4 separate regions of the Homo sapiens genome follow, and all the other regions are linked to region 1. Evidence: promoter capture Hi-C in human tissues and cell types (Jung and others, 2019). All regions are on one chromosome and are shown on one strand. The core of a region is centred on a gene start or on the middle of the fragment in contact, and the rest is flanking DNA. Distances in the headings are between cores, read along the strand shown.

What was found. Contacts are between HindIII fragments. The study calls those that stand out against the background at their distance.
Region 2: a contact is called between a fragment that was not itself captured here and the fragment with the promoter of ZIC4 in region 1, in 2 of the 25 tissues and cell types used here (H1 embryonic stem cells and dorsolateral prefrontal cortex).
Region 3: a contact is called between a fragment that was not itself captured here and the fragment with the promoter of ZIC4 in region 1, in 3 of the 25 tissues and cell types used here (H1 embryonic stem cells, dorsolateral prefrontal cortex and thymus).
Region 4: a fragment that was not itself captured here is called in contact with the fragment with the promoter of ZIC4 in region 1 in 1 of the 25 tissues and cell types used here (hippocampus).

Annotation. Positions count from the first base shown.
Region 1 is chr3:147,403,433-147,408,883 of GRCh38, reverse strand. ZIC4 (Zic family zinc finger 4) reads left to right here and starts at 2,341. Exons shown (of 5, transcript NM_032153.6): 1 at 2,341-2,521. RefSeq lists an enhancer at 335-1,525. The HindIII fragment of the contact is 11,475 bases long and covers 1-5,376 here.
Region 2 is chr3:148,250,585-148,256,035 of GRCh38, reverse strand. No RefSeq gene overlaps it. Among named protein-coding and RNA genes, the nearest start is that of LINC02046, 28 kb to the left of the region's middle. The HindIII fragment of the contact is 4,295 bases long and covers 1,275-5,451 here.
Region 3 is chr3:148,088,871-148,094,321 of GRCh38, reverse strand. No RefSeq gene overlaps it. Among named protein-coding and RNA genes, the nearest start is that of LINC02032, 13 kb to the right of the region's middle. The HindIII fragment of the contact is 3,232 bases long and covers 1,153-4,384 here.
Region 4 is chr3:147,920,448-147,925,898 of GRCh38, reverse strand. No RefSeq gene overlaps it. Among named protein-coding and RNA genes, the nearest start is that of LINC02032, 150 kb to the left of the region's middle. The HindIII fragment of the contact is 3,466 bases long and covers 1,719-5,184 here.

The sequences.
Region 1 (5,451 bases), core at 1,092-3,591:
TAAACACAGCAAAGGCACTTCCAGAATGTCCCGATTCAGCAACTTTCTTTTCTTTCTTCCCCCTTCCCCCCTCCCTTCAAGAGCAGCAAAAGAGGCTTTTGTTATTTGCTCCTTTTGAAGTTTGTTTCCCTCTTGCTTTGTCCCCCTCCTGTTTATAATTTAAGATCTTGGGAGCACACGGGCACTATGCTCTCTTTACAAAAAAATGTAATTTCTCAGTGTAACCGGCAGCCTCTGTATTTCTCGCTTTTATCTAATCAGACTTCCGGCACCACCGCACCCCCCTCCCCGAAAACACACACACACACACACTCACACACACAGGTGGATGAAAGCGCTTAAGTTCCCAGGTTATTGAGGTTTGAATTTTTTAATGGCAAATTTGAAACGTTGTTGCCAGTTTCCTTTACTTTTTCTCTCTCTTGCGTTATTTTTCTGTTTTCTGCCTTTCCGTTGTCTCCTTCGACTGCCCCCGCTAACCCTGTCTCTCCTCACTCCTGTTCCCTACTTGGGCCCCTTTCATTCAGGTAAAACTGTAAATTTCCCAACGCGCTATTGTTCCCTTGGGCTGCCCAAAGCTCCCTAGAGATCCCCGAATACTTTTTCGGTATTTAAATCCCCAATAGATAGGACCAATGTAAATTTTGTGACATTCAAACCTTTTCTAGTTCACAAATCAGTCACCCTTGTCACAGTTATTGAAATTCCGCAACTCGCCACACCAGGACGGTGGAAAAAGCGGGCGCGGTCTTTGTTGCCGACCAGGCTTTTGATCGCCAGAGAAAATTTACTTACCTTCAGATGAGTGAGCAGAAAAAGAAATAACACTCCCTTTGATTTAGTTAGGAAAATGCAGACATTTGGATTCAGTGCAAACATACAACACTCGCTTGTTTTCGCGATGCGGCCCTCGATTAACCTGTCTTTGCCTAGCGCAAAGTCTATTCAACAACTGCGCGTAGTTTCTTTTTGTCCCTTCCACAAAGAGCCATTGACTATATATTAAAATGATTGTTGAAAGGTAGGGGAGTATGGTACTTAAAAGCAGGAAAAAAAAATCCCTGTGACTCAATCAATTAAGCCGAGCAACATTTATGCATTTCAAAAAATGCACGCGGATGCGGGGGGTTGTGGGGACGAAGGTTGCATTTCTCCGCAGCTCTGTTTAAAACCCAGCAGTCCTGGCCGAGGCTTTAGCTGAAGCGTCTGCATATTCATTAGGTCTAATTATTTTCTAGTAAGGAAAACACAAAAAGCCAAGAGTCGGAATCCTTCAATTTACCCTTTGTTTCTAACTTCATTTGGCTTCTTTGCAGCTGAATCAAAGCCCTAAACTCTTTTTCCAAACAAAGAAACCTCAACTCATCCTTTCATAGGCGGCCCGGTTAGGAAACTCACCGTGCCCCAGCGAGAGGAAAATGAAAATGAATATATTTTTTGCCCTGACGCCAGCGCTGACTGCACGGGCTGGAGGAAGGCAGGGTCAGCGTCCGCCGCTCCTCGCCTTTCTGGTTTTCTGGTCTTCTCACCAACTAGATTCTCGCTTGGGGCTGGCCGGCGGGACTGCCCTTTCCATGGGCTGTGCTTGCTCAAAAGTCGGCTTGGGTATCCGGGATGATTTCCCGGTGCCTGAAGGGACCTGGCTGAGCATTTGTGCTTGTGCCGGGAAATATAAATTCGGAAAAAAAATTAATTGTTCTGTTCCCATCAACAAGTCTGAGTCTAGCAGCCCAGCATTTCCCACCAACTTTGAGTGGAATGGAATGAGGAGTGGAGGTAAAGAAAGGGCCGAGGTATCTTTAAAAATTATTGTACACTTGGTTGGAAAAAAAAAAGATATATCGGAGGCACTAAGTCTTTTTACCTACAAGGGGAAGTTGGATCCTGCTTCCCCTGGAGTTTAGAAAACCTCATCTGTATGGAGAAGTTTTCTCTAGAGGCTGTATTCCTCTCACTAGGGAGAACAGATATTGAACCCACCTCGCCCGCCTTTCAGGAAACACACGCGGGCGCACACACACACACACAACAAGGGAGGGGACCTAAGGGGGGAAGGGTAGCTGTTGGGAGGGGGAGAGGGAAAATAATTCTTCAAAAAAGAAAAGTCAGTCTTCTCCTCTCCAGTCCGTGGAAAATCCAACGGGGACGTTGACAAGAGGGTATTTTTAGGAAACACATCCAAATATACAGGGTAAGAGTGAATGTGAGAAAAAAAAAAGTTGTGGGTTGTAGAAGTTATCAAGTGGGATTTGCGGCGCTCTCTGCAGGAAACGCGAACGGCTCCAGTTCAAAGCCACATGCACCAACGTGACATATAAGCCATTAAAATATCATCCTGACGGCTCATTTCTGCTTCATCATACATTCCCTAACTGCTTCCTGAAAGCTGGAAAAGGAGAAGTGAAGGATGACCGCCTCGCTGGAACCACAAAAGAGAGGCTTGGAGGGGTTTGTGGTCCCCTCTCAGCCACCCCGAAATGATGTGCAGAAATGAGGCGATCCTGGCAACAGGTGGAGTGGGGTAAGTGCGTGAGTCCAGGGGGCAGACAGATGAGAACTGTACCTCCAGCGACCGGGTAGCAAGTACCCTCAAGGGGACCACTGGCACCCAAACCCCAGTGGGGGAAGAGGCCCAGCCAGTCTTTCTGCCCCATCTCCTCCTTCATCCTACCCCCCTCCCCCAACCGTGGATAAAGGCCCCACCCCACTGACACTAAGGGGAGGAGGGGGCCCTTCCGCAAAGGGGCAACGCAGAGGATGAGTCCATCCCTTCTTCCCAGGAGGAGGGAAAAGGGGTACAAATGGGGCTCCCACTGGCACAGGAACCAGGAGCAGTTTGTTGCCTGCCTGCCTTCCCTTCTCTCCTTGTGAATTGCCTGGGTGCCCCACCGTGGGCACAAGAATGGAAGTCGTGGCCCAGAGCTTCCCTCGCGAAAAATGAGCAAGGCGGGTGCCGGGAGGGGGCCTTTACAGGAGGTATCTCTGCTCTGCCCCCAAGGGGGTGGCTAGGAGAGTCTCTGCTTCCCCTCTCCAGGGTCAAAGCGCCAAGTTAGCCCAGATGGCAGCAAGACGATGGAACTTCTCCGCCCCAACCTGACGGCAGATGCCGCCTGAGTCCACCTCAGGGCGGCTCCTTGCCCTCCCTCACCCTGGTCCTGCCTCAGGAAGCTGACTGCTGGGATCTGCTCTCTGCGCGCGGCCAGCAGTGGGTTCGGGACTTGGCTTTCTTTATCTCCAATGCGAACAAGAGCAGCAACTAGCTCTCTGGGGAGCAGGCCGCAGCTCCTAGGATTCTGGCCCCTAGCCTAGACCCAGGGGCATTGGAAATTAGGGGCCAATGAGGAGGGAATAGAGCTGAGCTGTGAAAGAAAGCTAGGACTGGCTCAAAGGTTGGATCTGAAAGTTGGGGTTGATGAATGGCCCATGTCAAAGTCTTAGGAAAGCGGAGGGGCTTTTGGAGGGTTGCACTTCGGCCGTCACCGTCTTCAGGAAACTCCCTTTGGATTCCAAGGTCATGTTTTCCCCGCTTTCCGACAGTATTGTCCTCGCAGCGACCCACACCACTGCATGCTGCTCTTTTTTCTCCTGTCTCAGCCGCCTGCAGGTTGGGGGAGGGGTGATTCAAAGGGAGGGCTAAATGCCCAGCCTGATCTACTGATACAAACTCTATTCTGGGCACCCGGATGCTGCCCACACTTACTTCAGCCCCGAGCTGGGAAACCCAAGCTTCTCCCTCTAGAGAACAGGAGAATGAGTAAAGGCCCCTGCACAACCCAGCCTCAGCAAACTCCTGGCGCTTGAGGGTCGAATGGAGGGGAGCCAGAAAGGTGCAGGGTGCAGATGAGTAAATCAGGCAGCGGGCAAAGGCCGGGGCCAGTTTCCTCTCTGGCTCAGAGCTCCCTGCCAGCTTTCAGGGTTTTTGCTCTGCGCCCGCCAGGGACAAGTTGCAGCGGAGAGGTGGGCATGCCTTTCCCGCGCCTGCCGGCTAGTCAGTAAGGAGCAGCTCGGGAACTGAAGTCTCTAGCTGCAGCTGACCTCTGACCTTGGGTAGTCCTGCGCCGGCTAGGTCGGCCCCACAATTTGCAGCTTCCGAGGCTCCCCCAAATAAAAATGGTGCTTTTTGCACCTACCCACTGTCCCACCTTCTTGGCTCTCCTCCGGCACTATCAATCACTGGAGCTCCCTGGCACCCGTTCCTCTTCTCAAGGTGGGGCCAGGAGGGCAGATTCCAAAAAGTCTCCAGGATGTGCTATGGACTGGTAATTAGGAGGCCGTGGTTGATGTGGGGAGCAAGCATTTGGGGAAAACGAAACTGAGTTTCTACATTCCGTGGTTGTTTGGGACCTCAGGTCCACGGGCCCCAGGATTGCTCCCAAATTCTCTCACCTCTCTTTCAGCAAGATGACTGGCTTGTTTGCTAAGTGGTGTCAGAGTTTGAACTAAAGGAGATGTTTACCCTAGTTCCCTGTGTAGGCTGTGTGATGGAAACGCTACAGAGAGCCTCCTAAGGTCCCTGTTGCCTGCCCTAGTCCAATCTCTGCAATATTTGTTTGCATGTCTATGGGTCTGTAGTGCACAAAAGGCTGACAGGACCTGGGAGAGAAGTGATCCAGACCTCTTAGAAGTTGGGTTGGGGCTGCCTTATGGGTGGACAGGGATCTCTAGGGAACCTCACACCCATTTCCCCCAGAAGCAAAAGAGTAAATTCTATTATTGCCAACCAACCAGGACTTTTCCATGCCAGACATCCTGCCATGAGGAAATTTCAGAGCGAGGACGCCCAGCATGCCGCCCTTCTGTAGGAATGCAAAGTTAGGCCTCCTTTCTTTCCTGATTTGTGCTGGAAGGAGCTTATTACCTTTGGGGAAGAATGCCTTTTGGTTAGAAAGAATTGAAAATAATAATACCCTCTGGGAAAAGGTGAGTCTACCCCCCTGCCTCCTAGGCCTGGACCTAGAAAAGAGGGGAGATGGAAGGGTAAAAGCCGCCAAGCCAGTTGGAATTCTGGTTGGACGTTGAGGGGGAGAGAGAGAGAGAGAGATCTTTGTGCATAGAGAACTGGATACCGTTTAAGATAACAGAGTCCCACTTGGATTTGGCCTGTGGTTCAACAAGTTAAACAACTGCTTGTTCTGTGGGCAGACATCCCCATTGACAGAGGACTTGCTGTGTTTGTCCAGCCTGAGACCTTTTCAATGACTGTTTTTCTTTCTAGGCCAAATTGAGGGTGGGGGCCGGATAGATGCTTCTGTCTGGCTGCTCAACTGCCTCAGCCTTGCCTGACAGATGCAGAGGTCCTCAGGATGGCTTTAAGTATTTAAGGCGGCCAATGGCTTGGTAACTTTAGTCACAAAGTGAATCTGATGAGTAATGTGTATATCTTATGGGAGGTGTTATTTCTACCCTTCTCAACTATGAAATGTGGATGATTTGAACCAAACGATTAAAATT
Region 2 (5,451 bases), core at 2,173-4,672, 850 kb before region 1:
GCATTAAGGTAACACATAATATATTAATGGATGAATAATACTTTAAAATGGGATTCTAGATATATTAAGTGACAAAACCAAGATCAAACATTGTTATTCAATAACTCCAGTTTTTTAGGAAAATATGCATGTATCTCTTGGCAGGGTATTAAATTATTTTTCCTTCTCTTTGCCATTTCTAATTTTACTTCAATAAACATTATTTTTCTAAGAAGAATAAAATGCCGTTCTGGACATTTTTAGGAGTACATTATTATAAGTATACTTTTTACTAATTTTTACATGTTATAATGTGTTTCTTTTTCCATATGCTCAATATTGCTAACCTAAAGTCTGTCAAGACCCGCTGGTGAGCCCTAGTCTAGGCTCCACGTGAATGTGGTTATAGCTCAGACTCAGATCCTTGCTTTCTTGTTTGCTCAAGCATTCAGGGCTCATGACATGGTCTTCAGCATTTGGTCTTCTGTCTTTTTGCATTTTCAGGGACTTGGCTCTCATCTCACAGAGCTCTTCCTCTAGAGGAACTCTAGCAGTGGAGGGGATCATATCTTGCAAATGGTATGTGAGAGAGGGCCCTTGGAAAACTGCCATCTATCCAGCTCACCTTGACCTACATCTCTGAGGCAAAATTTGAACCTAGACCGTCTCCAAAAGTGGGGCTTTCCATGTAACTCATAGAAAGGATAGGGAGGTATATGGGACTGAGCACACTTTGTGACATAATCATTCCATGTGATGTGAATCCACCTGGGAAAGAGCTGGGCCACTTTACTAGCTTGTTTGTTCTAATATTGATAGACTATTCTTAGTTAGACAATACTGCTCTGTAGAAATAATAAAAGCAAGCTAAAATTTAGAACATCAGATGTGGAATTTTTGTTTCCCTTCACACTTCTTTTAATTTAAAGATAAACTTTCAAAACTGTATTAGTGATGCTGAAAAAAAGGAAAAGACAAATAAACTTGTCTCTTAAAAAATCATCTTTACATACAACCCTGTTTAGGCTAATTCTGCCTTTGATTTTGTAAGTATTTTTATTGCCTGATAAACTAGTAAATTTCTAATGGTGATATTATGGGGTTTTTAAATTATCAGGTTTAAAATATTAGCTAGCAGGTAATTTTGTGTATAACAATGTTGGAAAAATTCTGTGAAACTACTGTACCTAGGTCTTACATTATTTAATTTAATAGCATAAATATATGCACCTCATTTTCTTATCTCTAAAATATCACTTTCTAAAGAAATTGTGTGAGAATATGAGTTTAGAAGAGTGATCTTGTGCTGTAATTGGAAATTCTACACACTATTTCTGGCCCTTGCTTTAACAAACTGAAGCAGGAGTACAATTTTTTTAAAAAAGAAAATGACCTTGGCAAAAGATTTTCCCTTTGTATTCTGCCCTTGTTGGTTAATAATCTATTAAAGATAATGAGCACTGTACTAGGTGCTGTGGGGAGTCACAGGAAAGACAGTCTCATTGCCCACCCAGAAGGGGCAATGGTCATGACTTAAATGCTGCTTGAGGTAAATCGCTCTTCTTATGCCCCAATGGATGATCTGTTTTATTCTGAGCCCGTAGGGTCTCAGGAACTCCTTTAAATTGGAGATTTTCTTACTTTTCTTTCTTTCTTTTTTTTTTTTTCCTTTATGCACCCATCCCTACGCTTCCACACATATTTCCTTTCCTATTCAGTTAGCTCTGCTTTAAGAAGAGATGAAGGGGCCGGGCACAGTGGCTCACACCTGTAATCCCCACACTTTGGGAGGCTGAGGCAGGCCGATCACTTGAGGTTAGGAGTTTGAGACCAGCCTGGCCAACATGATGAAACCCAGTCTCTACTAAAAATACAAAAATTAGCCAGGCATAGTGGTGGGCACCTGTAATCCCAGCTACCCGGGAGACTGAGACAGCAGAATTCCTTGAACCTGGGAGGTGGAGGTTGCAGTGAGCTGAGATGGCGCCACTGGACTCCAGCCTGGGTGACAGTAGAAGACCCTGTCTCAAAAAAAGAGAAGAGTTAAATGGAAAAAGTTTTGTCGGAATGAAAAAAGCATACAAAGCTGCACTCTAATTTTTTACAGTCCTAAGTCAGTATTTGACTACAAATATTGACTTAATATTGTAGCCATATTTTTTTTGCTTGATAAGGTTTTTATTCTTTTGCACCACCAGGACCTCTAGTCCATTATCTCTATGAGCTTTTCACTGTCACTATCTTTTTACCAACCTTGGATTCTATAGTCTACCTTTAGCAACACCTCTTTGAATGAATTCCTTTGCTAGTCTCTTACCAAATAATATCTTCCCAACACAGTCCCAACTCTAGTTACATCCAATTCTTTAACTACATGGTGCTTGTATCTATTTAGCTGAGTATTGCCAGAGGAGACCATAACATAATTAACCATCTCACATTAAATTCTTGACCACAAAACTCTTAAGTGGGACCTTTAGGGCTACTTAATAGACATCCTGTTTGATATTTCCCTGGACATTTCATTTCCCATTTTCCCTTAAACAATGATTTCACACTTCTTCCTTTCACTTCAAATCTCTGATGCCTCCTCCTTCTCCAGAGTATCAGACAATGACTTATTTTTTGTTTCACTGACAAAATAGAAGCAATCAGAAGAACTTTGCAATTGTTGCTATTATTTGGTTTGCCAAATGCCCTGCACCTAGACCCTTGTATTTTGCCATCCCTCTGGTTATGTGTATTAACTACTAGTCCTTTTATCTGAAGCCAACTCCACTTGAGTTTTCCTCTAACCTACTCAGAAACTTCACTCCTGCATTGTTTTCCCCCTCTACATGATAATTGTCTCTGGTTTGCAAACATGTGATACTGTCTCCCACTGAACTCACATCTCTTTGCAGCCATTGTTCTGTTTTTCTAAATCAGGGTGTGGGTGGGAGTTTATTAAACAGAAAATCAGAGAAAGCTTTTCTTGTAAAGTAACCTCTAGCCTGATAACTTGACTTGCCTAATGAATGACTCCAGTATGAAAATGTAAATGGCTGGGCTGGGCGCGGTGGCTCATGCCTGTAATCCCAGCACTTTGGGAGGCTGAGGTGGGCAGATCACTTGAGGTCAGGAGTTCAAGACCAGCCTGACCAACATGGTGAAACCCTGTCTCTACTAAAAATACAAAATCAGTCGGGTGTGATGGTGCACGCCAGTAATATCTGCTACTAGGGAGGCTGAGGCAGAAGAATAGCTTGAACCCGGGAGGAGGCGGAGGTTGCAGTGAGCCAAGATCATACCACTGCACTCCAGCCTGGGTGTCAGAACAAGACTCTGTCTAATAAATAAATAAATAAATAAATAAACAAACAAACAAACAAACAAACTCTCCATTCTCATCCTCTACACCATCCTGCTCCACAAGCATCCTTTCCCAACTACATTCTTTTGAATGCTCAGACAATAACCATGGTGTCATCCTTGCCTTTCTTCTTTCTCTCACTCATGTTAAAGTATAATTTTCCAAAGAAAGCATAGCTGTCATGCAAGTATAAAATAAAATAAACATATGTCAAAGACACATTAAAGAGGGAACCAGTAAGGTGTATTTATAAGCTTGCTAACTAAGAAATAAATATTAGAAAAGGATTGCTATGTTAGATGTAAAACTGGTTAGTATCCCATAGAGCAATAAAGTATAATTTGGGGGTTATCTTTTTCACTAGACAATGGTTATTTGAATATCTATTGGACAGACATCTCCAAATTGTCCTGTAATTTTACTAAACCTGGTACCTTTAATCCAAAATTCTTACACTGAGATAACATTTAAATGGGCCTTTGTTCCCATAAGACATTGAAAGGATATGCCATCCTTTCAATAAGGCCATCCACCTCTTGCCTTATTTCCTAAGTTTCACATAATTTTAATTAACACCCAACTTGCAAACCATCAATAAATTCTGTTGGTTCTAACATAAAAATATTTTCAGGATTCAAATATTTCTCTCCGTTTTTGGTATCATCCTGATTCAGGTCATCTCTTGCCTAGCTATTTGCAAGTTTTCCCTATCTAGTCTCTCTGCTTTTTCCCTTGCTTTTCTAATTTATTCTCCATAGCAAGGGCAGAGTGATCCTGACCCATTAAAATCATTTGAATGGTTTACTGTTTCACTCAGAATAAAATTCAAAGTCCTTACTTTGGTCTAAAAGATATGATCCTCTTATTCTGGCTAATTTCCCGATTTTATCTCCTCCATTCTACCTTAGTCTTCTTTCTTATACTCAAAGAGGCAATTATCCTGCCTTAGGGATGTTCTTGCCTAGAAAGCTCTTATTCCCAGCAACTTAGAAAGCTTCTATTCCTAGCTTTCTGTATGGCTCACTTCCTCACTTCATTTGGGTCTCTCTCAAATGTTACTTTACAAGAGAAGCATTCTCTGATTTCCCGTTTAATAGACTCTCACTCCTTGCCCTGATTTATTTTTCTTTATAGCACTTATTACCACCAACATACTATAAATTTATGTTCATGTATTACCAGTTTCTGCCTCCTAGAATGTACATTTCATGGGAGTAAAAACTATATTTTGTTAATATAAGCCCAGTACATAATAGGTATCAATAAATATATGTTGAATGAAGAAATAAATATAGAGTTTTTTCTTGGAAATAATCTCATAGAGAGGCTTTCACATTTTCAGTAACCTAACCTACTTATTACCTGTTTCCTCCTTTCTATAAACACACAAACCCATTCTTGTATGAGTGTGCTCCTTTATCATAATTACAAAAGCTACCCCTTTTCAAATAAGTCATCTCATAAAAGCCATGATTTTTGTTTTGCTGTAACTCTTTGAATAGGCATTAAAATCTGAGAAGTCAGAACAATAGTGTCTAGGAAGCAGGGGAGACTGACTTTTCCATTTTGAAGACTCCCCAGTACCAATGAAGGTCTCATTAGTCCAGTTATCAACAGATTAAATGTACTTAAGGAAGTTCAAAACCCCATCATGATGAACTTCTGTTTCCTCTTCTCCTGCTACATTACCATAGGCAAGTGGCTCTCAAAGCCTTGTTTCAGGACCAGCAGCATCTACATCACCTGAGACACTGTTAGAAAATACAGATTTTTAGCCTCAACTCAGACCTGCTGATCAGAAACTCTGGGATGTTCAGCTCTTCCATCTGTGTTTTAGCAAGCCTTCCAGGTGATTCTGATGCTCATGTAAAGTTTAGAACCACTACCTTAGGTGGTTGGCCTCTATACCTGAAGAGGCAGTGGTGAAGTTAATTATACTTGAGTCAAGTGCCTCAAATCAAATCTTAGCTTTGTTTTGTTGCTTTCTAGCTGTGTGACTTTAACTAAGTTACTTAACTTCTCTATGTCTCATTTTCTTTGGATATGAACTGGAGATATTAATAGCACCAATCTTGTAGCTGTATTATGAAGATTAAATTAATACACCCAAGTGAAACACT
Region 3 (5,451 bases), core at 1,519-4,018, 690 kb before region 1:
TCTTATAAATTGATCTTTCCTTAGAATGATATCTATTGTACTAATAAAAATGAACTGATGTAATGTTTTTATGCGTCTATCTAGATATCAGAATTACATGGTAGATATCAGAATAACAATTTTTGATAGCTATTACTTGGCATGCTCTTTCACCAAGATTATTATTGGAGCAGTTTTGTTAAGAAGCATTTGTCAACATACCATATGCTGAAAACTATTTGTTGATTTAAAGTATAAGGGCTGAGTTTTCAAAAGGGAGATTTTGGTGTGCATAAAGTTATACACAGAATTGCATTTTCCCCACAGTTGCATTTTCCCCACAATTACCTAGTCATGCTATAGACTATCAACTACATATTTTTTTTTTAAGTTTTGCTTTGCTTGCAAAAATAATATTTTTTCTTTCCCTCGTTTTCAACAAATTTATTACTGCATTTCTTTGATTCATATTTTATAAAATATTGGACCTACAAAATCATTCTTTTCCATGTTACTCTTGAGAAAGTTCTCTATTTCCAAAAAATTTTCTTCCTTTAAGCAACCAACTTACAAAATGAGAGAAATGGCTTTTGAGAAATGGTTTAGAATAATAAATCATCAACTGGTATCTTTATACATTTATGTGTTACATTTATATATAATTCATATATAATATATAATTTATAAATATATATATTATAAAGATATTAAAGGAAGATTACTCCTCAAAATACAGAAAAATTATAATAGCTGTCACAACCTCTATAAAATATTGTCTTCTAAGATTAAAATATGAAGAAACTGAAGTAATCTATGTGTTGACTCTGTTGGGATGTAAAGTAATTTTATGAATTAGGATTTGATTTGGTCTTTTAGTCTTGTTTGCTATAGGTTCACTAAAAGTTGCAGACATTTGAGCATTTTCATGTCATTCTTTTTTTTTTTTAATGATAAACTCTTATTCTGCCAACAACAACAACAACAACAATGTGTAACTTGGATACCAGTTCCTTTTAATGAAGCTTTTGAGTCTTACAAAATATGATTAATCTGATTAGCGATTCAGCCTCCTTTTATGCTTACATTATCTAACACAAAGAGCCCCCCTACAGGTTAAAGTTTAAATGTGGATTACCAGATAAAGCTAGTCCTGACGAGGTTTCTATGGTGCAAGGAAAAATTGGATTTGCTTTTCACCTCATCTCAGGCTCTGTCATCCTGGTTTTCGCCTTGTTCACAGCAAGGATATTAATTTTGCAGTAAAATCTTTAAGCAATTATGCAGATAGCGCTGAAAATGCAACATACACACACAATAAGAGAAGCTTAACTGAAAAATGGACCCCAGATATTCATTAAAAACAGATGGCTACATTGCCAACAGCATAACTTTGGATGTTTGGGCTAAGCTGATATTAATCTGCCACAACATGAAGAGAGGATGAAACTGCTGGTGTACAAACTGTATGTATTGCTTCTTCTTTTTGCTTAAAAAGGAATATAATGATGATTTATGACTGCCCTTTTGATAAATGTCCAAAAAAGCACTCAGAAGTGAAGTAACATTTTAATAGTACTTGCTCTATCAAGTACTGATGCTCATTTTTGAGACACGTGTGGAATATGATAAATCATATTTGAAAATTCTTATTTTTCAAAAATTGTCATGGAAGTAGATGCAAGGATTCCATTTAAAAATCAAATATATATATATATATATATACACACACACACACACACACACATATATATTTAAATCTGTTTAAAAGAGGGACTATTTTGATTATAATATTTCAAAATCACTATAAAACACATTCGAATTTATCTGATGACCTGAGGACATCTTGACAAGAAGATAATTTTCTCTTAAATGACAAAAAACAACTATTTGTTGTTTATTTGCTCAGTGGAAATAGTAAAATTTTCAATCTAAACAAAATAAAGTAAAATAAATCAGAAAAATGTTTGGCAAGTCTTCCAAGTAAAGCATGGATGATAGAATCCATTGAGATAATTGCTACAGTGATAAATGCATAAAGTATATGTTTTTATCATTTATAATTATTAAACCAAAGTAAATAATTGAACAATAAGTTGTACCTAAAACTATACACATGCAATAAGTGTTAGAAGATTACAGAGGACTTCAACCAATGCTTTCTTGTTGGCCAAATTTATCTAACCACAGAAGCTACTTTCTGGACAGAATTGTCCTTATGGTATTACATGGACCGAATAATACCTAGTCAGACCACCATAAGGACAGCCACATTGAGTGTTGGGTCCAAAGACTAATTGAAACACCTTGACATTATTCTACTGCTTTATCTACATTTTGAAGACTGAACTGGGAATCACTGTTTGAAAACGGTCTTTATTACAACTAGAGAGTTTATTTTATCCCTTGAGTGTTAACCATTATTTTTTTCTTATATTAAAAAACTTTATATTTATTGTAGAAAAAAATTAAACAGATACTCTAAAGATAAGAAAGTTCAGATCATCCCCAATCCTACTACCCTGAGATGACCACCACCAATATACTTTTAATACATATTTTAAGGTATTTTTGATATAAATAAATGTATATTTTTTAAAAATTGAGATCCAGCTGGGCACGGTGGCTCACACCTGTAATCCCAGCACTTTGGGAGGCCGAGGCAGGCGGATCACCTGAGGTCAGGAGTTTGAGACCAGCCTGGCCAACATGGTAAAACCTTGTCTCTACTAAAAATACAAAAATGAGCTGGGTGTGGTGGTGTGCACCTGTAATCCCAGCTACTCGGGAGGCTGAGGCAGGAGAATTTCTTGAACCTGGGAGGGGAGGAAGAGGTTGCGGCGAGCTGAGGTTGGACCATTACACTCCAGCCTGGGCGACAGAGCGAGACTCTATCTCAAAAAAAAAAACAAAAAAACAAAAAAAATGTTGTGATCTAACTGTTTATTATGGAATCTGCTTTTATTACTTTTATTCTTCCAACAGTCTATGTAATGACTATCAGTTCTATAGAATCCAATGTTTTTCCAGATCCTTATTTTACTGAATCCATAGTATTCCATTGTATGAATAATTAAAAATTCATTTTACTAACCCTCTATTTATGGTAAACAGGATGGAATTTTTTATTACTATTAAAAACATCACAAAATTCATCTATTTAGCTAAAATTTGTATGTAATATATGTGTTACCAATTAGCTGATCCTCTAGCATTATCCTCTTTCACATGTAAATAAACATTTTCTTGGGCAAAGTATACTCCTAGAAAAAACATTCAACAAGCTCTTTTGTTTAACTCAACCTATTTTTTAAAAAATGTATATTTATAGTCTGACTAAAATAACTTGTTGCTAATGGAAACTATTACTTTATGTTAATAACCTTAAAATAAACCTTTTCAACCTAATCAAATTTCTATCAGCATTCTCTATGTTGCTTCAGCCATGCTGATCATTTGCTATTCCTCCAGCATGCATTCTATTCTTAAATACCATCAGACCTTTACAGATGTGTTTCCTCCTAATGTCCTTGGACTACACTCAAGTTGCTGTACTAAATTATCAACTACCCTGTGAACCCCTCATTTAACCCCATCTGTGATAGTCATGTGCTGTTCCTGTAGATAACCTCGTGTGCTAATCTCTATTTAAGGTCTTTTTTTTAAATCAAAAGTATTTGTTTATATGTTCTTCTTTTTCAATGGGTTGTGAACAACTTCAGGTTGAGGTTTATGTCTCATTCACTTTTTATTCCCAGTACTTGATGAAATGCCTAACATCTACTAGGCATTCTGAAATGTTCATTAAACTAAATAATGACCTGAGGATATCTTGACAAGAAGATAATTTTTTATAAACGACAGAAAACAGAAGCACAGCTACCTTCAGCAGGTCCTGACTGGGGCTGCACAGGGCTCAGCCAACTCTGGTGGCCTCAATGTCATTTTAAAGGATAAAATGAGCTTGAAGCTTTGAGTTTCCTTCTCCCTTTCACCACTGTGAATGATTCAAACGTATGTATGCACTCACCACCACCTCCCAAAAAAACCCTAATTTGGCCCCATCTGTTGGTGAGCATAAGGAGATATGGTTAGATTTTGAAGCAAAGGGAAGAAGAAGCAGAATAGTGATTGAATAGGGATTTGACATTCTTAGGGATTGTTATCCTGTCCTTCCATTAACAGGACTCTTTAGGCAAGGTGAAGGAGGAAAATGACATTATTACAATTACCTTTAAACAAATAAGCCCTAGATGCAGAACAATCTTAACTTTATGTATTAATATTCATTTGTAACTATTGAATGTGTGCTGTTGGTGAAACATCACATTAGATTTTCGTAATGGTGGCATGACCGATGGCTCTGAAAATTTTTTTGTTCCACCTTCCTTGTATTGAAGCCATATAGCTGTAAAGAGAGACTTAGGAAGCCAGAGAAAGGAAACTTTGGCTCACCCAAAAATCCATCTGAAGCAGTTCAAGGAAACATAATTCCAAAAAAAAAAAAAGAGAGAGAGAGAGAGCTTCCCCTTATTGGAAGGAGCCAGAAAGAGCAACCCACTGGGGTGGGGGATGACTTAGAGGGCTGTCTCCCCACTGTTTGTGAAGTTGCACTACATGATTTCCAAATGTCTTCCAAATCTAGAGTCTATGAATGGTTATAACTATTTATGCACAAAAGCCTCCATCCGGAATCATCATCCCACTCACAAATAATTTTCATGTCTTTTATTTCACATTTTTCTTTCCAAATGAGAAATTAGACAGACTCCTTTATGTTTCATTTTAAAGAATGTCTAGATTAAATTTGGGAATAGGGATTCTATATCTAGATGTAGATATAAGCTTTAAAAGCTAACCTATTGAGTGGATATTGAAATCTTTAGAAATCTTTTTCTTATATCAAGACTATTTTCCTGTGTTTGCATCTGTCATGACAAGTGTGATTAAATATTCTGGCAATGGTATTCAACAGGCATACTATCACAAAAACAATTTCTGTGGCTTGAAAAGTGATGTTTAAAGCCATTTCAGTGATACCAAATGTTTCTTTGAGGTTAACATCTTGTGACAGGAAATGAACACAGCACTAAAAAAAAAAAAAAAAAAAAGTGCAGCTAGGCATCATATGAAAATTTAGTATATTTTCTTATGAAGAAATTTCCTTAAACAGATACTTACTTTAAACTTATTGGTTAATAGTATTATATACTGTTAAATAAGAATACTTATTTTTTAAAAAAGACCTGGGAAACACATAAAGGTTAAAACACAATTTTATTTTTAATTGAAATTGTTTTTAATAAAATCTCATGAGTGTTTTTAAGCTCTGAGTATTCACATTTGAATATGGTGAAAGTGTGTATATTTAAAGAAGTAAGCTATTTAACATATTGTGTAATATGAGCCAGATAATCTGCTTTGATAATGAGGACCCTGTGCAAGTAAGGCAGAGACCATGATCCCAGGTAGAAG
Region 4 (5,451 bases), core at 2,202-4,701, 520 kb before region 1:
GTCTTTTTGTTTAAGCCACTGTAATTATTTCCTTACTTGCAGCCAGATCTATTTTTAACTAATGCAGATAAGAAAGAAATCAACCTGGTGAAGGGTTGAAAAATAGTGGGAAATATGATTTCAATAATCACCATATACCATTCACACATCTCTGATTTTGTATGTTGAATATCTGCTGTCTTAAATGCCTTTTCTTTACTTCCTTAGCAAAAATGTCATCTACTTAGGCCTAGTAATTTGTTACTTCTTACACAAAATTTTCTTTAATTACCACAGTCAGAATAAATGAGGCTTTGGGCTCCCACAAAATATAGCTTGTACTTAGATACAGCACTAAATAATTTTTCAGTCTCATGATATGATTAAGTGTTTAGATATGCACCTCTTTTCCTAGCCTGCAGATTTCCTGAGGACAAAGATGTCTTATTCAATTTTTTTGTTTTGTATAGAAGTGTCTTACACATATCCTGCTTTCAATCCAGTTTTGCTTAAATGAAGTTTTGTGTTGTAAACTGAAAAAAAAAAAAGGTAGCATTATTTTCCAGCTCCCAGCTCCTTCTCCAGTAGGTGAAATCTATCTCTCCATTCTTAAATCTGTACTTGGGGGAGTCTCTCTGAATCTGCTGTGATTCTGGGGGCTGCCACCCAAAAAGATATATATATATATATATATAAAAATATATATAAAAATATATATACACACACATATATACACACACACATATATATATACACACTCACATATATATATAAAAATTAAAAAAATTAAATCTGTACTTGGCTTTGTGACTTGCCTTGCCAATGGGATGTAGCAAATAAGATACAAGTAGAGACTTGAAAGTTATGGTGCATTGGAGCTTGCACTTCTCACTGCATTTTAGAACCATGAGACTCTATGTGGAGAGCTCAAGTTCGTCTGCCAGATGGTCAGAGACCACAGGAGCAGCTGACCCAGCTAAACACATCTTCTATCTACCAGCAGACCCATTAATTGGCCTCAGTTGCTTGAGAGAAGCCAAGACCAGCAAAAGAATTGCACAACTGAGCCCAGCTAAATTAATGACACATAGAAATATGAAGTAAATAAAATGATTGTTTTAAGCTACTTAATTTGGGGGTAGATTATTATATAGCAACAACAAATGCACCATCAAATTTTCAGGGTTGCTTTTTAGAACTTTCTACTTCATAGGTTCAGTTTAAAATACACAGATGATTGGAGCAAATGTATCTTTTGGTTAAGAAGAAATTTATTTTCATAATTTTGGTTGACTTGCAAAAATTACTCAAATTACTGGTTTGTATTATAGGCCTACCCTGACTCATAAAATAAATTGATTGCTGTTGATTTTCAAAACAGTATCATGGGACCAACAAAAGTAAAATAAAAATTCTCTGCTTTTTAAGATTTTTATCAAGTGGCACAATGTTTCAAGCTGTTAAAAAACCTTGAGTATCCTTTATAAAACTCATGAGATCTGTGACCTACCCCAGCTATGTTGTTCTTTGTGAAACTTTTATGAATATTTTAATATTTGAAGCTAGGTTATTAATAGAGTTTTCTGTTTGGTCTTAGCTTGATTCACATGAACTTTGTTCTCCTTGGGCAATAAGAAATTCCTCAGCATCATACCTTACTAAAAATCTACCCATTTTATACTGCATTAGGTATGAATTTCAAAGCCTTAATTGAGGTTTCTTAGATTTAATCTTTAGTAAATTGCTTTAACTCTAGGGCAGTTAGAAAAATCTAAGTTATCTCTAAGCCACTTTCTGTGTCTATTTCTCTTGTCCCTTTCCACATAGATAACAAACAGGAGACAGCAAGCAGAGGAAAAGTAAGGAGTATGGCTGGGCACAATGGCTCACGCCTGTAATCCCAGCACTTTGGGAGGCCGAGGCAGGTGGATCACATGAGGTCAGGAGTTCGAGATCAGCCTAGCCAACATGGTGAAACCCTGTCTGTACTAAAAATACAAAAATTAGCCAGAAAGGGGGCAGGCGCCTGTAATCCCAGCTACTTGAGAGGATGAGGCAGGAGAATCACTTGAATCCAGGAGGCAGAGGTTATAGTGAGCCAAGATCGGGCCACTACACTCCAGCCTGGGCAACTGAGTGAGACTCTGTATCAAAAAATAAATAAAGTAAAGGGTATGGTTGGCTGGTTCATTCTGTCTCCCTCCAAAAGTTTCTGCCTTAATTTTTGTGGAGGAAGGTGAATGTAGGATGGAGAACAGGTCCTGGATATTCTGAAATGTTGGGCAAATCAGCCAGGAGTAAAGATGCCATTCTCACAGAACTTTCATGTAAAAGCTGTTTGTGCAGCTCTGCCTCTTGGGGTGTCTCGCTGTGACATGCGAAGTCACAGCTTCTCATGTCAGCCTCTCAAAAAGGGCATCTTCTTTGTGAATGGGGTCCCCTGCCCATCCAAGCCCTAACTTGACAGGCATTTTCTTCTTAATATGGAAGATAAATTTCTGAGATATGCTCTCAGCTGCCCCAACATGGTCTTTAAAATCTGTTTTAATACAGCCTTTCCCACATCTTAGATGGTCTACAGAAAATAACATATAAGTATATATGTATGCATTTCTTATATAAATAACTTCAACTTTATGATCTCTACAAACAACAGTCCATAGTTATAAGCAAAATTTCCATAGCATTCTTAAAGCAAAGTTGGAATTAATGTGCTATGGCTATTAAGGTTGAAGTTTGCAGTGAGTGTTTCTCCCAAATCCCCTGTGCTGTGGACCTAATGTCTGTGTCCTCCCAAAAGTCACATGCTGAAATCCTAACTCCAAGGTGACAGTTTTAGGAGGTGGGGACTTTGGGAGGTAGGAGGTCATAAGGATGGACTCCTCTTGATGGGATTAATGCACTTATAAGAAGAAGCATGAGGAAGATGATTTTTCTCTCAGCCATGTAATGGTACAAGAAGATAGTTGTCTGCAAACCAGGAAGTATGTCCTCAGTAGACACCAGATCTGCTGGCACCTTCAGAACTATTAGAGATATACTTTTGCTTTTTAAGCCATCTCAGGTATTCTCTGATAGTAGCCTGAACTAAGATACACTAAAACACTAACAATTAAGAAGCAGAAACTACAATCTACAAAAATCATAATCCTAATATTATTTCCTACTTTTAAAACATTTATCTGAGTTTTTTACTATATTGTACATTATCATTTCCAGTAGAGTATTCTAGGGAGAAGCTACTTCTGAGGAATTAACCTTCAAGTTGCATGTAAACATGTGTTTACAATGAGATGTACTGGAGATATTAATGACTACTTCCAAACTTTGAAAAAGGAGATGGATAGTCAGAATCTCTAAATCAGCTGGGAAAGATTCAGATGGGGGAAACTTCTGATGGGGGAAAATCGTGAATTAAACATTGTAAAAATTTGTTTTCGTGGCCGCACACTGTGGCTCATACCTGTAATCCCAGCACTTTGGGAGGCTGAGGGGGAAGGTTACCTGAGGTCAGCCTGGCCAACATGGTGAAACCCCCTCTGAACTAAAAACACAAAAAAGCAACTGGACATGGTGACGGGCACCTGTAATTCCAGCTACTTGGGAGGCTGAGGTAGGAGAATTGCCTGAACCCGGGAGACAGAGGTTGCAGTGAGCCAAGATCATGTCATTGCACTCCAGCCTGGGTGACAAGAGCGAGACTCCAACTAAAAAAAAAAAACAATAAAAAAAAATATTGTTTTGGTGCCACATAGAGGTAGGAAAATCAGGCTTGGTATGATGATTCCAAAATCATAAGTCTTCCTTTTTTTAATTGAAAAAAAGTCTCTGACTTTCGGACCACAGCTCAACAGAGCCACACTAAATATATTTCTTTAACCTACCTATTGAGTTTTCTTTATCTTCATAACTGGTAGAGAGACCAGTTTAAATATCAAAAGACAACATAAAATGTATGGTCAATTGCCTAATACAGCAAAAAGAAATGGCTATAATTAACTATTTTACTGCCTATCTTTTTTTGTCCAATTGCTACAGAATACTGGAATTATATGGGGACACTGAGGCAGCTGGGACATTTTGTGAAGTTGAACAAATCCAACTTTAAGGTTCTTAGATTTAAGCTTACAGTCTTAAAATATGGTTGCTCTCAAGTCAGTCTGTTTCATCCAACTGGGCCTAGAGTCTCTTTCTCTATTAGTTACTAAAAGTCAGTTTTTTATTGTGAGGTTTTCTGTTGTTGTCATGTTATGTGTTGGTTTTTTTGTTTCATTTTTAATGAAGTGGAGAGAACATGCTTTAGAAAAAAACACATATGGTAAATTTTAAGTGCTCGATACAATATTCTAATTGAGTGTTCATGTTCAAGTACTTTCTTTAGAAATATTTTAATGTGAAACACTTCACAAACAGTAAATCCCAGGTTAGTTATTAGTAAGTGAGCCATATACGTTATCAAAAGCTTTAATTAGATAAACTAGTTTACTTCTCTTTACTTCTTCAGATATCGACTGTCACCTCTGAGTAAAAATCTTCAGCCAGATCTATTTTTTCATTCAGCTTCTCACTTACTGCAAACTACAACCACAGACTTTTTGAAAAAAATATGGCTGCCATCCCAGCTCCATAGTTTCTGTGACTGTTTTTGTCTAACAGAGGAAGAACTAGCACATGTCTGTTAAACAACAGTAGGAACCCTTCCCTCTCTGTTTTGCAGTCATTTGCTTTTCTCTTGGCATCTGTAACTAAAACAATTTCACACAAAACTGAAATGATTCACTACTCGTGCCTTCTGTTAAAGATTCCTGATTTTCAACCCATCTTGGTATTTACATGACTTCTTTCTTTTGAACATTTTTTTTTTGCATCAGGATCTATTTGAACATTCACATTAGCACAAAATGAACAGTTGTAACATTGCTACATTTTCATTTCTGAACACTATATGTTATAATTTACTCTTGTGGTCTTACAGATTAATGAATAAATTCTTAGAACACAAAACTACTTTAGATGCATAAATGAAAGCACGTGTTTACATCATAAACATTTTACTTGTGTGTTTTTAATCATGTTAAAACATGTCAATGTCTTTAAAATGTTTAAAATACAATATAAATTCTTTTAAATATGTTTTTAAAGTTATAGAAAGGTGAGCATTATTCTTTTGAAAAAAAGTACTTCACATCAGAGACCCAGATATAATGGAGCTGTGATAATAATTATGGAGAACAAAGACAACCTCTGAGAGAAAATATAAAATGTACTTCCTTGTGATTGATAAAAGTCCTCTTGAGATTTTCACACAGGCTAATAGCACCACATTGCTCCTTAAATTTCTTTCCTTTTTTTTTTAACTTTCTATAAGATAAGGTAAGTACTGTATATACACAAGAAACGTGAAAAAGTGGAGCAATTTTGTCCCTTGATCACTTTTAAGTAGGAAATTGTCAGGCATTCCTGTTTAAATAC